Regions from separate parts of the Homo sapiens genome. Here regions 1, 3 and 4 are each linked to region 2. Evidence: promoter capture Hi-C in human tissues and cell types (Jung and others, 2019). All regions are on one chromosome and are shown on one strand. Each heading gives the region's core, a stretch centred on a gene start or on the middle of the fragment in contact. The rest is flanking DNA. Distances are from core to core; before and after follow the strand shown. Region 1 overlaps SGO2 (shugoshin 2). Region 2 holds the start of SPATS2L (spermatogenesis associated serine rich 2 like). Region 3 overlaps BZW1-AS1 (BZW1 antisense RNA 1). Region 4 holds the start of LINC01792 (long intergenic non-protein coding RNA 1792).

Region 1 (3,438 bases), core at 64-2,563, 270 kb before region 2:
TATCAGGAAGGTCTCATAAATATGTTTTTAAAGTCTTTATATCTTAAAGACTTTAAGTCTTTAGTCCAGAGCACTGAACATGACAAATGAGGACATTTTTAATATAATAAAGGCCATAATCCAAAATGAATAAGTAATAATCATGATATTTACATAGCAAAAAGCAGAGCAACCACCCTTCTGAAGCAAAAACTACAGGAGATACATGGAAACACAGGACACAGTAGATTTTAATATACAACTCTTAGTATAACCTTAGTACAAAACAGATCACTTATTTACAAAAAATAAGAAACAGAAGATCTAAGCAACATAATAAATACAGTAAATCTCATGGATATATATCAAACTTTAGACCTTGATTATGGAGAATATACATCTAAGCAATCACAGCACAGTTATAAATGCTGATCCTATAGTAGGTCACAAAGAAAATACTGGCAATTTCCATAAAGCAGAAATATTACAATAAATAATTTCTGACCAAAATGCAATAAAACTAGATTTACAAATAAAAACAAAAAACCAGAAAGGTTCATCTACCTGGAATTTTTAAAACCTCCTAATAACTCCTAAAGAAAAGGAGAAACTTAAAAACGACATTGAAAACACTATGTATCAGAATCAAGATACATTGAAAGCACTGATCAGAGAAAAATTGATTGCAAAAGACACTTTAAAAAAAAATTTTTTTGTGTGTGTTCTATTTACTTATTTTTATTTTTAATTTTTTGAGTCAGGATCTTTCTCTGTGCAGTGGCACAATCATGGCTCACTGCAGCCTTGACCTACCAGGCCCAAACTATCCTCCCACCTCAGCCTCTCTAGTAGCAGCTGGGACTACAAGCACATGCCAATGTGCCTGGCTGATTTTTAAATTTTTTGTAGAGTGAGCGTCTCCCTGTGTTGCCCAGGCTGGTCTCCGACTCTTGGGCTCAAGTGATCCTCTCACCTCAGCCACCCAAAGTATTGGGATTACAGGTGTGAGCCACTGTGCCTGTCCATAAAACACTGTTATCTATATAAATGAAAGAATAAAAACAATAAATTTTAATGGGAAAACAACAATAATAAAGTAAATCAAAGAAAACACAAAGAAGGAAATAATAAATATGAAGCAGAAGTCAGTGAAGTAGAGAACAGAAAAATAGATCCAATTAGTAAATCAAAGTACTGATTTTTTGGAAAAGTTAATAAATAAACTACTACCTAATTTGATCAAGAAAAAGAGAAAAAGAACAAACACAAAAAATAATAAATGATATAGGTAAAATAATTATGGGAAAAAAGATTTAAAATTAATTTACATGTCTAATTCATAAAAGATACTTTGCAGACTTTTATGCAAATAAATTTGAAATCTTAGATGAAATGGATAATTTCCTGTGGAAATACAAATAACAAAAATTGACCCCATTACAGCAAAAAAGCTTAAACAGACTAATTTTCATACACACAAAAAACAGTCAACGTTATTAAGGAACTATCCCACACAAAACAGTACTAGGTCCAGATGGTTTCAGAGGGGGATGCTAACAAACTTACAAAAACCAGAGAGTCCCACTGTTCTAAAATTATATAAGTATATAACATACAAATAATTATAAACATAAATTATAATGCACTATAAATTATAATGAAATATAAATTATTTCATTAAAGGAACCAAGATGGTGACTTTCTTGATTCCCTTAATATGATACCTAGGCCAGATAAAGACAATTCAAAGGTGGGTAACTATAGACTCACATCAGTTATGAATGTTGATATAAAAATTCTAAACAAAATATTTTGGCAAACTCAATTCAACATCACATTATGAAAAACATACTCCGTGATCAAGTGAGATTTATTCCAGGAAAGCAAGGTTAGTTCGGTACTGGAAAACTCATCAACAGATGCCATGTTAATACATGTAAGTAAATGAAGTATATTACTATCTTCATAAATGCTGAACAAGCCTTTGACAAAATTCAACAATCATTCATGATAAAAACACTCAATAGGCATCAAGGGGCATTTTCTTAGTAAATTATGTACATATCTTAATCCTACAGCAAGTATCTTGTTTAATGGAGAGACAAAAATACTTCAACAGAAGCATTTCTACTAAAATCAGGAACAAGGCAAGCATGCCTACTATTCCTGCTACTATTTTAACATTGTACCTGAGTTATTAGCCAATGCTAATATAAAAACAGTAAGAGGCATACAAACAGGGTAATGAAGTAAAACTATCTCTATTTTCAGATGATATCATACTATACCTGGAGAACTCAAGACAATCAGTGAGATAAGAGAATAACAGAGTTCAGAAAGTAACAAGATATAAACTGACACAGAATTCAACAGCTTTCATATATACGAACAACATTGGGCATCAGTTACATGTCCATATATAATAGCAACAAAGAAAACTAAATACTTATAGACCAGTGGTTTTCAACTCAGGATGCTTTTGCCTCCCAGTTGAAATTTTGCAACATATGGAGACATTTTTGGTTGTTATAAATGTGAGGGTGCTACTGACATCTAGTGGATGGAGGTCAGGGATACAGCTAAACATCCTACAATACACAGGACAGCCTCCCATAAAAGAGAAATACCTAGCCCCAAAGGTCAACAGTGCCAAGGTTATGAAACCGAGCCAGACAAGTCAATACCATCCTAAGATTCATTTGTAACAACAAACATTCAAGAACAGTGAGGGAAACAATGAAAAAGAAAAACCATGAGAGGATACTAGCCCTACCAGACATTAAAACATACTATAGATCCTCTACAATAAACAAGGAGACCACTGGCAAAGGTGATGAGATGTCTCACTTCCGAGATGACATTTTGTTATATAAGACTCTATCCTGCTACAGGACTTGCTCTAGAGATTCTCCACAGCTGGCTTTGAAGTAAGTGGCCATGCTGTAAAGGAGGCCGTGTGGCAAGAAGCTAAGGACAGCCTCTAGTCAACAAGAAGAAGATGAAGCCCTCTGTCCAGAACCACAAGGAAATGAATTCTGCCAACAACCTGTGTGACTTGGAAGCAGATTCTTCCCCAGCACAGCCTCCAGATGAGAACCAGCCTGGACGACACCTTTAGTGCAGCTTTGTCAGACCCTAAGCAGAGCACCTAATTAAGCTGCATCCAGATTGCTACTTAAGCCACTAGGATTAAGCCACTATGACATACTGGAACATCCTGTGTGTCAGAAAGTAAGAAAGTGCTCCAAATAGTATGAAGTCATGTCAAAAGGACACGGAAGCCAACCTGAAGGAACTCTTAGTGGTCAAAGTTGGAATAACTTGAGCAACAAGATAAATATTGATGGCATTGGACTTTCATCTATAGAACAAAAGAGATACCCACGATATATATCTATATCTATATCTATATCTATATCTATAGAAAAGACAACTCTTCCTTACAGATGAATTCCAATT
Region 2 (3,755 bases), core at 674-3,173:
CACACAGATACAGAATTTGACATGTTTTCTGCCACACAGATACAGATTTGACATGTTTTCTGTTCTGCTGCTCCATACAATAGGTTTTAACACAGCTTGAGCTTATTCCAAAACTCTAATTAGAAACTGCAGTATTTGCCTTGTCCAAATAGAAACCCATTCCCAAAGTTGATTTTTCCCCAGTTAAAATTCAACAAAGAATATCATACACAGATATTTTTAAACACGACAGTTACTAGATAAAACTGCCCTATCTAACAACACATTGCTTTCTGGTTAAGCAACACAATTTCATAAGGCCTATCAAATACTTTATCCAGACGGCCACTCTATTTTCAGGGTATTGGTTGTATTATTTGAAGTCTTTTTTTTTTTTCAGAGTGAAGAGATTTCTGACTTCCTGTCCTCTTCCCTGCTATATTACATACATCTGCTTAAACTCTGGAAAACAGTACCAGTCAAAGTGGTGCTGAAACCTTCCTTTAAGACAAACTAAAACGATGTTAAAAAGGTTACACGACCTTACTATTTCAAGTACTGGTATAAAACCACTTTCTCTGCACAGGTTCTAAAATTTCACAGTCGTTTGTCTTAAAGTCTGTCGGCTTGTGAGGGGGCTGGTACATATTTTAATATTTAAATTTCAAAAAATAAGCAATGAGACTGTGTTTGAAGTTCAAGGGTTTTCACTAGTTCTCAAGCTACAAACCCTGTAATATAGCCAAAAGAAAACGTACAGAAAGAATCTTTCACGAAAAGTGTCAGGTCTCCAAAACCCCGACATCTGCTAAAACCAGGATTGCGGGGGGGATGAGAAGCTCGTGAAGTTCAAAAACACACCAACCCCGCGGGAACACGAAACCTCCACTCGCGAAGACGCGACGCTTCCGCCGCATCCCCGCGCAGGTGAAGACTCGGCCCTTCAGCCCCGCGTGTGCGGCAGCATGATATTCAGAGTGCGCCGGCGTCCAGCGCGAGCGCATCCTACGACAACCCCGTCTCCCGCTGGGGTCCGCAGCCCGCGGACTCCGGGGTCCCCCCGCCCAAATGCGGCGGCGCGACCGCTTCGTCCCGCGGCCAGGGCGCTCCGCGTCTGCTCCGGCCACCCCAGCCCACCCGCGCAGCGCGGACGCCAACGCATCCCACTCCCGCTGGGCGCCAGGGGCGCGGGGTTCAGTGGGGCCGCGGCCCCCGCACCCGGCTGGGATCCGAGGGCGGGGTGGTCGCGGCTGACGTGGGCTTTGCGGCTCCGGGCCAGAGAGCAGCCTGGGGGACGGTGGGTCTCTTTCCGGCTTGGGAGGGAACGGGGGCGCCCGCGCGGGAGGACGGCAGGCGAGGGACGGCGGCCGCGGGCGATTCAGATCCGGGGCGGGCGGGTACACGTCGGAGCGCGGCGGCCACACGCTCGCCCGGGGAGCGCCACTGTGCGTCCCAGCCGGCGCCTCCTCCCGCTTGCCCGCGCCGGCTGGAGAAAGGAAGGACGGCGACCTTCGCGTCCGGTCCGCGCCACCAGCCCGCCTCGGCGCCGAGCGCGGGCCACACCCAGCGCTCCGGGAGGCGGCGGAGGCTGGGCGGCCCGGGCTGCGGAATGCTCGGCCCAGCCGAGTCTCCGTCCCGGCCGCGCAGGCCCCTCCGCGTCCGCCCGCGCCCTGCATCCCCAGCCGGCCCGGCGTGGAGGGGGTCCTGGGCTTACCTCTGTGTCGAGCGCCGGCTCCTCCGTCCCGGGCCGGAGCCGGGGCCCGGGGGCGCGGTCGCCAGGGGAGGCGCCGCGGCGGTGGCGGCCCCTGCGGCTCGGAGGGCGGGCCGAGCGGGAGCCGCTGCCTGGGCCGCGCGCCGTCCGGAGCTCGCCCCGCGCTGCCGGCGCTTGCAGCGGAGGGCGCAGCCAGCTCGGCCCCCGGACTGGATTCCTTCACTGACACAACTCCGGCTCGGCCGCCCCACGCAGGGACACTCCCGCCCCTCGCAGGCTGCCCCCGCCCGCCGACCCGCCCGCCTTCCCCTCGGTGTCACTCACCAGGAGCACACACCCCAGCCGGCGCCCCTCGCTCCCGCTCGCAAACACAGCGCTGCTCACGCCTCTCTCGGGTTTTGTATCCGCTCACACGCACGTTCTGACACAGATCTCGTCCCTCCACACGCCCTCCCTAGCTCCTTTCCCACCCCACTTTCTAGAAGAATCCCAGTACAGCTTCCGCACTTTGCTTGCTTGCTCCAGACCGACTTCCTCGCCTTTCCCCAAACCTCCACTTCACCGAAACTCCCCTTGTTAATGAAAGATTTTGTCACAATCCGCACGTGTTGCAAGAGAATCATCTTCTCCTACCCGAGAAAATGAACTTTGCTCCCTCAGCACTGTCTGCAAATACGAGATGTTTTTCCTTTTAGAAGGTAGTAATGCTTTCTGGAGAGGATCCAAGCTCAAAATGTAAGCAAAGATAGCCCATTCGAAAATGACCTGAAAAATCAGGCGCGGAAAAAGTGCTGGAGCTCGGGTCAGCCCTTGGAAACCCGACCAACCCGGGGTGTTCCGCCGCCTCCTCTGCGCTGCGGGTCTGCACACTGGGCTCCAAACGTGTGTGTAATAACCAAGTTACACATGGGCATCGTGGGCTTCAGCCGTGGGTTTCTGCCTGGGAGTACAGTAGTCGGGAGAGTAAAAGCAGTTTCTCAATCATTATTCATGATGGAAGCACTTTAGATAACACTCTTCTTCCAGAGGCAGTAGAGTGAAATGCAGGCAGCTCTCCAATTCAGGTTTTTATTTATTTATTTATTTATTTATTTATTTAGAAGGGTGACTTCTTAGCTTCCTTTTTTTTTTTTTTTTTTGGCAATACCAATAACTGTTTCTGAGTGGCTCCTTGGCTGTCAAGCTCCTTACAAATATCAGACCAGAGTTTGTTATGCTTCTCGAGCTCCAGACTCTAATGGGCCTCCGAGGGCACTGCAGAATCGTACATAATCCGATGTTCAGGAATTCATAATTTGAAATAAAATACAAACACCTTTCGGATAAAGTTCAAATCTGCTAACATAATGTGGCCCTGTTGACAACGCACTGCTGAAATAAAGAGAGGAGCTAAAACGAAAGGAATTCATTTTCTTATGTGACTTGGAGTGGTTCTTGCTACCTTATAGTCGCCTTGGATTGGTGTGTGGATAATATAATTTATTTAACAGACATTAGCAAGTGCTTTATAAGTACTAGCTCATTTAATCCTTGGAAGAACCCCATCAGGTAGGTACTACTTTTGTCCTGTTTTACAGATAAACTGAGGGCTGGGCCCAGTGGCTCACACCTGTAATCCCAACACTTTCGGAGACCGAGGTGGGCAAATCTCTTGAGCCCTGGAGATCAAGACCAGCCTGGGCAACATAGTGAAACTCCATCCCTCCAAAACAAAAAAACTAATAATAATAATTGGCCGGGCATGGTGGTGCACGCCTGTAGTCCCAGCTACTCAGGAGGCTGAGGTGGGAGGATTACCTGAACCAGGTAGGCTAAGGTTGCAGTGAGCCAGGATCACACCCCTGCGCTCTAGTGTGGGCAACAGAGCCAGAGCCTTTAAAAGAAAAGAAAGAAAGAAACTGAGGCACAGAGAGGTGAAATAAGTTGCCTAAGTTTTTAGCTAGTAAGTGGTAAAGGAAGAATTTGAACCTAGACCGTTGGACCCTGCCTGTGCTACAGAGAGGAAAGCTTGCTTCTAGAAGCCATACCACACATAAAGAACAAACATCCTATTGCTTATTAAATT
Region 3 (3,219 bases), core at 106-2,605, 500 kb before region 2:
AACTACTTAAAAAGAAAGGTGCTAAGTGCAACATGTGAATGTGCTACTGCTTTTAACTTCATTGATGGGAATGGATACCTAAGTGTTTCTTTTTTAAAAGCAAGTGACAATAGGTTTTTATTCCTAACAACTAGAAGAATATCAAGGGCCTGTTTTGAAAAGCACATTGTTGCCCTTGGAAAATGAGCTGGGGGAAGTATTTATTCCTATGCTTTGAGTCTTGTAGAAGCTTATAGAACATCCTATGAACCTGGCTTAAATATTGTAGCATATGTATATGAAATACTTCTAGTTACACACACCTATATATGTATGCATATATTTATGTATGTATGTGTGGCCAGAAGTATTTTCATAGGCTCCACAAAATTTTTACAGTGAAAAAGCTTTGAGGTACAATGAGCTTTTAAATAATTTCATTTTAGGTAAAAAATGTGTTAAATATCATTCACTTGCTACATATCTCATATATACCATTTCTTTTACTTCTTCATAGAATTATTTTAATAGTTATAATTATTAATAATATTTGACATAATCAAGATAAAAAGCATTGCTTAGTTACATTAACATTTTAGTAATATTTGTTAAATAAATACCCTCTTTTAGCAAACACACTCTATTATTTAGATTTTAGTTTTTTTTTTTTTTTTAATAGAGACAGGATCTGGTTATGTTGCCCAGAATGACCTCCAACTCATGGGCTTTAGCAATCCTCCCACCTCTGCCTCTCAAAATGTTGGGATTTATAGGCGTGAGCCACCACACCTGGACTCGATTTTTGAATAGGCCGAAATAATTGGGAAGCTTAGGGATTCAAGAAATTTGGCATACATGCATTTTCTGTTTCTCTCTCTCCCCTCTTAACATCAGAATAATGACAGGTTAAGGTGAAAACTCTTTGCTCCTGTAAAGTGCTTGTTCAGAATATAGTTTGAAGTGAGTTGCCAAATAAGTGATATTTGGGGTGATTTAAATATGTGCATTCTAAGTTATATAGCATTCAAGACATTCATTAAAACGAAGCAAAATAAAAACCAACAAGAGAACAGTGTAATGGCATGTGGTATGTTAGCTATAGGATTGTTTAGAAAAAACTGTTTACTGCTTATTATTAATAGTTCATATCTCCTAGAATATTACTGCAGAACTGAAGATTAAGAAATGTTACTAAGAGGCCGGACGTGGTGGCTCACGCCTGTAATCCCAGCACTTTGGGAGGCCGAGGCGGGCGGATCACGAGGTCAGGAGATCGAGACCATCCTGGCTAACACGGTGAAACCCCGTCTCTACTAAAAATACAAATTAACCGGGCGTGGTGGCGGGCGCCTGTAGTCCCAGCTACTCAGGAGGCTGAGGCAGGAGAATGGTGTGAACCCGGGAGGCAGAGCTTGCAGTGAGCCGAGATCCCGCCACTGCACTCCAGTCTGGGCGACAGAGTGAGACTCCGTCTCAAAAAAAAAAAAAAAGAAATGTTACTAAGGACGCCAGATCCAAACATCTCTGTGTTGGAAAATTATCTCCAATGCATAACGGTTTCCTTGGCATATTTAGATGGCCATCTTTCTTTGATGTCTTTTTTAAAACCTACATTTCATTTTTTGGGAGCCTCAGTGCGATGGAATTTTTTTTTTTTTTTTTTTGAGACGGAGTCTCTCTCTGTTGCCCAGGCTGGAGTGCAGTGGTGCGATCTTCACTCACTGCAACCTCCGCCTCCCGGGTGCAAGCGATTCTCCTGCCTCAGCCTCCTGAGTAGCTGGGATTACAGGTGCGTGCCACCACCCCTGGCTAATTTTTGTATTTTTAGTAGAGACGGGGTTTCACCATGTTGGCCAGGCTGGTCTCAAACTCCTGACTTCAAGTGATCCGCCGGCCTCAGCCTCCCAAAGTGCTGGGATTACAGGTGTGAGCTGCCGCGCCCAGCTGATGGAAAGTTTTTATTTAAGATGAAAAAGCAACTAAACTAAATAGAACTTAATCACTGCCTTATTGCTATTATTAGTAGTACTACTGCTATTACTTGGTATGTACTACTATTAGTAGTAATAGAGTGGTCACAGTAGACCTTAAATTTATAGAGGATGTTACTGTTTACAAAATATTTTCACATGCATTTTATAATTCTTCACAGAAACTTTGTGAGAAAGTAAGGCTGCCTTGCTTTCAAAGCAAGCTAACTATAGATAGAATTGATGATTATTAGTCTTCCAGAACAAGGCCATGGACTACCATTAAGTAAACTTAATGTCAATTTATCTGATAAGAAAAAGTGGAACCTTTTTTCTAATGATACATTTCAGGTCCTACTCTTAAAAAGCAGTCTTGGAAGATTTCCCAGATCTTTCTGGGATAAAATTAGTTTTCTTTAAAAAAGCAGTTTCATTTTCCAGAACTTAACCAGTATAGAAGGCTTTAGCATCAGAGAACTTTATACAATAAGGCTTGCCCAGCACAGAGATCCTTAGCACTAGGTGACTAGTTATAGTAAGTGCTGAAATGAAATTCTCTGTTAGTTCTCTATACCTGTGCTTTGAATTCAACTCACATTTTTCAATACCTAAATGCCACGAAGAACTTTCAGAACCTAAGCGTGTTAGGCCGTTCTTGTGTTTCTATAAAGAAATACCTGAGGCTGGTGCGGTGGCTCAGGCCTGTAATCCCAGCACTTCGGGAGGCAAAGGCAGGCGGATCATGAGGTCAGGAGATGGAGACCATCCTGGCTAACACGGTGAAACCCTGTCTCTATTGAAAATACAAAAAATTAGCCAGGCGTGGTGACACGCACCTATATTTCCAGCTACTGGGGAGGCTGAGGCAGAAGAATCGCTTGAATCCAGGAGGTAGAGGTTGCAGTGAGCTGAGATCACGCCACTGCACTCCAGCCTGGGCAACAGAGTGAGACTCTGTTTCAGAAAAAAAAAAGAAGAAGAAGAAGAAATACCTGAGGCTGCGTAATTTATAAAGAAAAGAGGTTTAATTGGCTTATGGTTCTGCAGGCTGTGCCAGTGTGGCACGAGCATTTGCTTTCAGGTGAGGGCTTTGGGAAATTTACAATCATGGCAGAAAGTGAAGTGGGAGCAGGGACATCACATAGTGAGAGTGGGAGCAAGTGTGAGTGAGGTGGGAGGTGCCACACACTTTTAAACAACCAGATCTCACGGGAATTCAGAGTGAGAACTTACTTATTACCAAAGTGTTGGTGCTAAAGCACTCATGAGG
Region 4 (3,377 bases), core at 692-3,191, 430 kb before region 2:
GGCACCTGCCATAGCCCTGGCTAATTTTTTTTTTTTTTAGACAGAGTTTCGCTCTTGTTGCCCAGACTGGAGTGCAATGGCGTGATCTTGGCTCACCTCAACCTCCGCCTCCCAGGTTCAAGCGATTCTCCTTCCTCAGCCTCCTAAGTAGCTGGGATTACAGGCATGCGCCACCATGTCTGGCTAATTTTGTATTTTTAGTAAAGACGGGGTTTCTCCATATTGGTCAGGCTGATCTCGAACTCCTGACCTCAGGTGATCCTCCCACCTCGGCCTCCCAAAGTGCTGGGATTACAGGCGTGAGCCACCTGCGCAGCCTAATTTTGTATTTTTAATAGAGACGGTGTTTCACCATGTTGGCTAGGCTGGTCTCGAACTCCTGACCTCAAGTGATCTTCCTGCCTTGGCCTCCCAAAGTGCTGAGATTACAGGCGTGAGCCACTGCGCCCAGCCTGGATCTCTGCAGATTTTTAAAAGGCTTCAAGGTGTTTTTACACAGCCAGAGTGAGATCTCCTGGGCTGGTCCACATTCTTCTTTTGACAGACACAAGGAAATAGAGGCTAGAGAGAAGGAATGACAGCAAAAACTTGCAGGTGGCAGACCTTACCAGAATTTTCCATGACCTCCTCCTGACTGATTGTGGTGAAGCTATGCAAAGTTGCTTTGTGATTAAGGGGGATAAATCGAATGGCATTACAATAAGGCAAAGGTCATTCAATTCCCCAGGTTGTTGTCTAAAATCTGTAATGCTTGGATTTCAGGTTTTGCACCCGATACTCAAAATCTTCAACAATCAGTTTTGTGAGGGGCACTGGTCAATTGGCCCATGTAAGGAGCTGCCCCAGCCATTTATGTTGAGCGTTACTGGGTATGAGGAAGTTGGGGGCTCCTGGGAAGGGTCCAGGGAAGTAATGGGAGAGCATCTAGCGATCGAAGTAATGCTATTTGCTAACTGGCAAGGAAATAATTCAAAATTTCAACCAACTTTGGAGCCATAAGTTGTGAGTATTGGCAGGATATTAGCATGAGCTTCAGGGTTTTTCTTCAGTAAGGATGAAAGGGTTCAAATCAGTCTTAAAAAGTGAAGTAGTCACCCAAACCCCCAGGAGATGAGTTAGGCAGCCTTTTAAAATTAATCCTTCACACCCGGGGTTTGCAGAATGAAACACTAACGTAGAGTGACTTGACATTACTAGCTGGGCTGGTTCTAATTGCAGTTAGTCTGTTTTTATCAGGTTGGGCTTTGATTTATCTCTTGTTGACTAATCTTTGAGAATATTTCACCCTCCTACATAGCTGTATTTTATCAATATTAAGAATGTACTTGGCATGACACCTCCCCCACCTTGCCAGCATACTCATGCAACACCCCGCTGCCTCAGTAATCTCAGCTAATTTAGTTGATAAGGGAACCATGAGCTGCTCCTTGTTATCCTTATGCTAAACAAATCTAAACTATCCCTCCCCGCTGGAATGTCTCAGCCTGGAGTTCTCACCCTGTTTCTGTTTTAGCGTCTCCTAAAATGTACTCTGTAACAGGGGATCTAATTTCATCCCAGACCCATCAGTGATGGTCTGTTGCTTCCTTATCACAGGTTTCAGTGGAGCCTGTTTTTTAACTTCTGGAAGGTCCTGGCCTGCCTTATCGTTGCAGGAGTACTAGGAAAATCAAGCTTTTTTTTTTTTTTTTTTTTTTTTCAGTCATACAATTCCTTCTCCCTAAGGAGAAGACCCAGAGCCTTATTAGTGGAGGAGAAACCAGAAACAAAAAAACATAATTATTATTAAGGTCAGAAGCATCACATAGACCAGCATCACCACCTCTTATTTGACACAGAGGGAAAAGGGCAGTTCAACCCCAGTGGGGATTGAAGTATCCCTGTCTGCTCTATTGCCTGAATCCTCATAAGAGTTCAAACACAGTTTGAAGCCAAATAACTCCATTTCCATTGCACACATCACCATGTCACCTCATGCTAGGCACGACACACCTTCTGCCAGGCTATACTGAGAACATTCTACTTAATGTGGTTCTATTCATATTTTATTCCATCTCTGGTCACAAAATCTAGGTTTCTTCCAATGCAAGTGAAAAGAACTTCAACTTTGATTCTCAGAAAGGGCATTTCAGTGGAACTCTATGCTTTTCAGAGTTCATGGGTCTATGAGGTAAACATGCAATGACTTTCTGGAGCACTCACTATACTAAAGATTTTGAGAAAACAAATGTATACTGAGCCAAACATGTAGGTCATATGATTGAGCATGCAAACCTTAAACAAATGTTTAAGTCAAAATTACAGCTGTGCAAAAATGTATTTCCTGGGTGTGCTGGTGGGGAACACATCTGGCTCCAGTACATCCCACCCCTGCCAGTGTCCTTCACTCATCTGGGACTTAGGAAAAGTTCGAGAATCGTGGAAACTTTCCTGCAAGCCACTAGAGGGTACTCATGCTTTAATTTTAAGAGCCCTAAAGGAAGGCGCATTGTTTGTTTTAGCTCTGCTTTGCAGAGACCAAACTGAGCAGTTAACTCACATAGCTAATTGGACAGGCTGTGGGGTGGACCTGAGGGGTAGAATGGCAGTAACAAAAAGAGTGTTGGCCAGGCGCAGTGGCTCACGCCTGTAATCCCAGCACTTTGGGAGGCTGAGGCGGGTGGATCACGAGGTCAAGAGATCGAGACCATCCTGGCCAACATGGTGAAACCCTGTCTCTACTAAAAATACAAAAATTAGCTGGGCGTGGTGGCGCACACCTGTAGTCCCAGCTACTCGGGAGGCTGACGCAGGAGAATTGCTTGAATCTGGGAGGTGGAGGTTGCAGTGAGCTGAGATTGCACCACTGCACTCCAGCCTGGCGACAGAGCGAGAGTCTGTCTCAAAAAATAATAATAATAATAAAAAATAAACAGAAAGTTTAATGAGGAACAATATATTTACATAGTTTCAAAGTATCTCCCCACAGAATATTTATTAACTACAGAAGGAGAAAAACCACCTCACTGTGGAGAGTCCTGGTAGACACCATCTTAACCAAGTGGGACATGTTGAAGTCATGTGTCACCTGGCAGGATGCCATGAGGGGAACACAGAGTCACTTTTGTAATATTCTGACAAAGACTCATAACATCGATCTAACCACGACAAAACAATAGACAAACTCAAAATGGGAGACATTGGACAAGATAACTGGCCAAACTCTTCCGAAGTGTCAAAGTCATGATGTCAAAGAGAGAGGGGAGACCTGATTCCTGCTCCAGGACACCTCAGAGACAGGACAACTAAATGAAAAGTGAGATTCTGTATTGAATATTTTTGCTATAAAATACTTGATTGGGACAACTGGCGAATCTTGAATGGAGTCTGATAATTAG

What was found. The method cuts DNA at HindIII sites, captures the fragments that hold promoters and counts their contacts. A contact is called where the count stands out against the background at its distance.
Region 1: a contact is called between a fragment that was not itself captured here and the fragment with the promoter of SPATS2L in region 2, in 2 of the 25 tissues and cell types used here (hippocampus and liver).
Region 3: a fragment that was not itself captured here is called in contact with the fragment with the promoter of SPATS2L in region 2 in 1 of the 25 tissues and cell types used here (hippocampus).
Region 4: a contact is called between a fragment that was not itself captured here and the fragment with the promoter of SPATS2L in region 2, in 1 of the 25 tissues and cell types used here (hippocampus).

What each region holds. Positions count from the first base shown.
Region 1 is chr2:200,578,115-200,581,552 of GRCh38, reverse strand. The region is part of intron 8 of SGO2 (shugoshin 2); the gene reads right to left. Among named protein-coding and RNA genes, the nearest start is that of AOX1, 6.2 kb to the left of the region's middle. The HindIII fragment of the contact is 7,879 bases long and covers 1-3,438 here.
Region 2 is chr2:200,304,861-200,308,615 of GRCh38, reverse strand. It overlaps SPATS2L (spermatogenesis associated serine rich 2 like), which reads right to left and starts at 1,923. Exons shown (of 13, transcript NM_001100423.2): 1 at 1,694-1,923. RefSeq lists silencers at 959-1,288, 1,309-2,038 and an enhancer at 2,449-2,548. The HindIII fragment of the contact is 4,989 bases long and covers 1-3,755 here.
Region 3 is chr2:200,805,625-200,808,843 of GRCh38, reverse strand. All of the region lies in intron 1 of BZW1-AS1 (BZW1 antisense RNA 1), which reads left to right. Among named protein-coding and RNA genes, the nearest start is that of BZW1, 4.7 kb to the left of the region's middle. The HindIII fragment of the contact is 3,486 bases long and covers 1-3,098 here.
Region 4 is chr2:200,734,955-200,738,331 of GRCh38, reverse strand. It overlaps LINC01792 (long intergenic non-protein coding RNA 1792), which reads left to right and starts at 3,155. Exons shown (of 3, transcript NR_037886.1): 1 at 3,155-3,295. It also overlaps the pseudogene AOX3P-AOX2P and the pseudogene AOX3P. The HindIII fragment of the contact is 3,272 bases long and covers 306-3,377 here.